Linked DNA regions of Homo sapiens: region 1 is linked to region 2. Evidence: promoter capture Hi-C in human tissues and cell types (Jung and others, 2019). All regions are on one chromosome and are shown on one strand. Each heading gives the region's core, a stretch centred on a gene start or on the middle of the fragment in contact. The rest is flanking DNA. Distances are from core to core; before and after follow the strand shown. Region 1 overlaps TNRC6C (trinucleotide repeat containing adaptor 6C). Region 2 holds the start of TMEM235 (transmembrane protein 235).

Region 1 (2,727 bases), core at 106-2,605, 270 kb after region 2:
TTTGAAGTGTATTGAGTTTAAATTCTGGCTTCATCTCCTATAAGCTATAGGATCTTGTGGAAATTACTCCCTTTGCTCATCTGTAAAATGGGAATGTTAAAAGCAACCACTTCACAGGAGTGTTGTGAGGATTAAATAAGATAAACTCATGTCCTTGGCACATAATCACATTGTAAATGCTCAGATTAGTTTTAAATGGAGATCTGGTTACCTAAGGATGCTTTCTAACCTCGTCCACTCCCACTTCACAATTCCCAATTGTCCTCAGTGACTCAAATGTACTTGTTCCCACAAATCCATCACCTTCTTCCCTTACTGTGCCTCCCTACCAAAAAAGACCTTGTTTAAGACATCAGCCATAGCCCCCTGAAGAACAAAGCCTATTAAATTCCCTCCCTACACTCTGGGCCCCTCACTCTGCACTTCATATTTCATATGGAGTATGAGAAAAAATACTTGTGCATCTCCCTCCTCCCCACTGTAATTTCTGAATAACCGTTGTCCACATCATCTCAACAACAGTTGGAAAGGTGACACCTGTGCCCGCGTTGCCATTTCCCAGTTTCAGATCTTAGTTTAATTCCCAGTTGCTATTTTCACTGAGATTTTCCCTGCTTCCTAAAAGAGTAATTAAAAAGAAATGATCTTTGGGAATAAAAAAGTAAACAATATCTTTGCCAGGCTCAAACCAAGCACTTGATTTTAGCTGTGAGAGATCTTATTCTTAATAAGCTAGAAGGCACACATAAAATGAATCAAACAAAGCACATATTCCCAATAACCACCTGGGCACCAACTTGCATCTGGTATTAGCCACGTCAAAAGACAGTCTGCACATTAGTAAAGGACTCAACCACAGACAAGAGTTATCCAACTGCTGAGAATAATTCAACTTGACACTGTGATACTATAGGTTTGTAGTTCAATCCTTCAGAGAAGGAAGTTATAAAGATACAATAGAGTATTAATTTCTAAAATGGTCTGAAGAAGAAAAACAGAGAGGGTCTTCAGAGTAAACCATTTGGATTTATACAAATAGATGCCAGTCACACTCTTCTTCATTTTTGTGCAAAAAAATTAAAAATTTGTTATGCCAAAAAGGTTCATGAGAAAGTGGAAACTGGGCCAAATTAGACCAATCCATCCCACAAAATATCTGGAAGATTCCAGATGACTCTTTGGGCCATGTGCACTGTGTGTGGCCCAGTGATCATATGGGTCTTAGGGCAGTGGTTCTCCAACAGAAAAGAAGTATTGCAACAAAGAGGCAAATAAAGAGGAAGATGGTGGGACAGACAACTCTTATTTCCTAGACACCCCTTATTTCCTAGAGCAAACATTTAAATCCACTGGCTTACAAGAGGAATATACTTAAGAAGCTATATTATTGCTCATCCTTAATCACTACTATATTTTAGAAAACCAAAGTTCCAATGCATAGCTGGAACTCAGAGAGACACAGAGAATATTAAGAGTTCAAAATAACATTGAGTGTTCCTTTCCCAAGACCATTACTTCTGTTGTGGTTTGCAGCCACAGAGGGCTCAGGAGAGTGCGAACAACTATCTGTGCTACAGCAGTGATGTTTTATGGCTGGATGCCCAGATTGTCTAGCTCTGCACACAGCTCTATAGTCTTTTGAAGGCTACAGAGGAGGAATGCATTCTTAACAAACAGCTCTCCATTCCTGCAATAGCTTCTTCATTCTCTGAAAACATCTAAAGCTAAGAAAAGAATTCATTTTTAGTAAAACTCCAAAAATGGAACAAACGATATGGATTTTCAGCATGTTTTAAACATGTAAAACCTTGTTATATATATCCCAGGTGGAGATTTTTTAAAATTACATAATTTACTTTTCATTAAATAAATTAACATTTCAAATGCACGATCTGTACAATAGGAAACTGTACCATTATTTTAATCGGGTTATTCAAACAAGTTCACTGGCTAAGATTATACATTTCTCAGTTTCAATTTCAGATATACACTTTCTGCACAAGGTTATATAGTTATTTCTGACAAGTAACCTTTACATTTTTAAGTAATTATATTCCTAAAAAGTTATGTATAAGCTGAAAATTTATAAATGGACTCCACTGCATTAAAGTCTATTTAAAGAAAGCTTATTGTATATCATTTTATAAAGAATGCTCTCCTCGTGACCACACAATTATTTAAAAACTCATTTGTATAAATTTGGATAGCCATAGACTGAGTAAAAGCAAGAAAACCTGTACAATCTACCCCCTACAAAATAGGAGCCACTTCTCACCTGATATTTTGCTGTCCCTACTCAAATCTATGACATCTTCAAACAAAATATTAAGATGTTAACTATCTAAAGTAACTAAAATCCAGTCACCTTCACTGGGACCAGTTGTCATGCAAGAGAGACCAAAGACTGTGTCACCAACACTTCAAAATATTTCCTTACTTCTCACCTAAAATATTTGAAGACCCTCTGAGATAGAGCTGGAGAAAAGGTAAAAACCCATGTCTTAAAATTATGAGAAAGAAGCCAAAACAAGTTCAACGGAAGATAACAAAAACAAAACAAACATAAAGTTACCTGGTTCTTCCCAGCTTATATAGACCCTTTCACGCTCAGTCTGTTCAGGACTCCGCCTCCTGCTCCCTCAACCTATCCTTCTGCCAGCTCCAAGGACGTCTATAAATCTGTTCCTGTCTCCTCCTCTCCATTTCTTGTGCCTTCTCCACCAGCTT
Region 2 (2,824 bases), core at 216-2,715:
TGTTGGATGAACACAAGGCTCCTAACTCCTCCCCAGTTGCACTGAGGAAGCCACCAGCACATGTGCACCACCCACACATGCACTCACTCATATACATGCCCACACACTCTCACATGCACACACATGCACACTGACATGCTCACACACTCATATTCACATGCACACACAACTACATACACTCACACTCACATATTCATATTTACATACACAGCCAGGTGCTCACACATGTTCATGTTCAGCACATGCACACATATTCAGATGCACACACATGCTCACTCACACACACACCCCTGCCCTGCCAGCCCTCGCGCTGTGAAGGGGAAGCTCCCCAGGCTGGCCCCAGCTCCGGAGGAGGGAGCTGGGGGGAACGGAGGGGGCCCTGTGGACCCTCCAGCCTGCTGGGATCCCCTTCTCTCTCCCCGGACTCTGAAGCCTCTGTACACATTTGGAACCCCTGCCCCCGCGGCATCAGGAGGTGTGGGGTGAACAGCTCTGACAGTGCCTGACAGGGACGGGGACAAGGGGCTGCCAGGCCCAAACCCCGGGGAGCGTGATCAAGAAACAACCCCTGGTGACTTGGATGAGGCCCCCCAACTACACACCTCTAGGCTTCCCTCCCCCACTGTCGCCCCACAGCCCCCTCCTCCGGCTGTGAGGGGCCCCGAACTGGGCTCCCTCCCTCCTGTAGCCCTTGGGCTGTCAGTTTTGGGGGAAGACGGAGGGTGATGGGGAGGGAGCGGAGAGACACCCTGGGGCAGAGCGGGATGCAAGAGAGGGGTCCTGGAAGGGGGTCTGGCGGGGCAACACGAGCAGGGCGGGGTTAAGGGGGTGTCGGAGGGACGAGGTCGCGGAGGGAGGAGGGCCGGCGCGGTGGCCGGTTACCTTCGCAGATGCGCCAGAGCCCCGAGTGCGAGGAGAGCAGCTCTGCGCGCCCGGGCCAGGCGCTGCCATTGCCGGCGTCCGCCACCTCCAGGATGTACCAGTAGTCGCTGGCGACCGCGGCGGCCAGGAGCGCGAAGCTGAGCAGTGCACCCAGGGCGGCGGCCAGGAGCAGCGCGCCCAGCCGGGCCATGGGGGCGGCCGGCGGGAGGGGACGGGTCGGGGGTAGCAGGGCCCCGGGGGCGGCGGGGGGCGCGCGGAGCCGGGAGCCGGGGGACGGGGGGCGGGCGGGCGCGGCGGCGCCCGGCTCTTCTGAGCACGTCCCCGCTCCTGCCCGCGCACTGGCCTCGCGGGCCCCCTGGGGTCGCAGGGAGATCGACCCCACCTCTCTGCGGTCGCTGAGCTCGCCCCTGGGGGAAAGGAGAGGAAGTCGAGAGCCGCGCGGCGAACCTGGGGCTTGGGCTCCAATCCCAGCGTCCCCACGGGCTGGCCCCGGGTCCCTGGGCACGTTCCTTAATTTCCCTGAACCCCCGGCTCCTCAGCAGCCAAACAAGATGCACCTGCCTGGCCGGGCTGTGCAGGGCTTGAGAGGAGGAGGGAGGATCGGCCAGAGACCGACCCCAGGAGGATGGCCGGCCAGGCAGCAGGACCACCCACCCGTGCTCCTGGAAGCATAGGAGCCTGGCACGGGCTGGCCCTGGGGTCCTGGTCTGTATCAGTCCTGAGGACCAACCAGACGGCATCCGGTGAAGTGCAGTGGCTGGGCCCCACAGCCGGGCGGGGGGCTGCGGAAGGAAAAAACCTTGTTTTGGATTCACTCATAATTACAAATGCCCCCTCCAGCAAGGCCGGCCTCTGCCTGTCCAGTCACTCACGGAGAAAACAGGCAGAAAGAACCTTCTAGGACAGGCGTGGGGTGCCAGTGGGGGTGGGAGGCAGAGGAGCCGGCGAGAGGCCCCCACCCATCCACCCAGGACTAGCCCCATGAGCAACGCCCGCGTGGGCAGCCACACAGGCGGAAGGGACAGGCTGGGCAGCCATCGCCTAAGGTCTGGGGTTAAATCTCAAACGAAGGGGAGGCTTCCTCTGGGTTGCCACACAGGGCTGGGCAGAGCCTGCAGAGAGGGGATCAGAGGTCTGAGGACATCCTCCCGGATGGTGGCCCTTGGAGGTGAAGCCAAGGCTCTCTTCTTGGGGCGTTTTGGCCATGCTTTCCTCTGCTAGGCTCTTGTTGGTTTGAGGAATATAGTCAGGAAGGAAAAACCAGCCTAGCAGTTATTGAAACAATATTTCAAACAGAGTTCAGACAGAGTGACAGAATGGCTCAGGTATTTTGTAGCCGTCCTCACACCTGCAGCACCAGACTGTGTTGCCGCACGTGGGCAGCTCTGGGGTTTTCCAGCCCCCTTGGAGCTGGGGCTTCCCTGACCACAGCCCCTCTCTGGGAGCCATGTGGCATCCAGCAGCCCTGTTCTCTAGGGGTGGGGATAGCACATTAGATCTGGAAGGTGAAAGAACTCAACAGGTGCTCAGAGAGTAGCAGCCGTTATAAAGGCAGAGGCGATAGGGATAGGGGGTGGGGCCTCGTTCCCCCCCTAAACACACTGCAGCTGGGGAAAGAACGGTGCGTGATGAAAACTCGTGGTACTCTGACACTGACCCCACAATAAAGCAATATAACAAGAATCAATATTGCTTCGGTTGGATCAACACCTTTGTGCATGTGAAAGGTACGAACTGACTCTGCAGGGAGAACAGAGGAGCCCCATTTGGGCTGCGTGCTCCATGTGTGTCCTCCCGGTGACTTCCCCTTCTCTCTCTCACTCTATTTATTTTTTTAGAGACAAGGTCTCCCTATGTTGCCCAGGCTGGACTCAAACTCCAGGGTTCAAGTGATCCTCCTGCCTGGGCTTCCCAAAGTGCTGGGATTACAGGTGTGAGCCAC

The links. The method cuts DNA at HindIII sites, captures the fragments that hold promoters and counts their contacts. A contact is called where the count stands out against the background at its distance.
Region 1: a contact is called between a fragment that was not itself captured here and the fragment with the promoter of TMEM235 in region 2, in 1 of the 25 tissues and cell types used here (spleen).

The regions. Positions count from the first base shown.
Region 1 is chr17:77,962,504-77,965,230 of GRCh38, reverse strand. All of the region lies in intron 1 of TNRC6C (trinucleotide repeat containing adaptor 6C), which reads right to left. Among named protein-coding and RNA genes, the nearest start is that of TNRC6C, 5.2 kb to the right of the region's middle. The HindIII fragment of the contact is 3,556 bases long and covers 1-2,727 here.
Region 2 is chr17:78,230,272-78,233,095 of GRCh38, reverse strand. It overlaps TMEM235 (transmembrane protein 235), which reads right to left and starts at 1,465. Exons shown (of 5, transcript NM_001395503.1): 1 at 883-1,465. The coding sequence starts at 1,072. The HindIII fragment of the contact is 13,022 bases long and covers 1-2,824 here.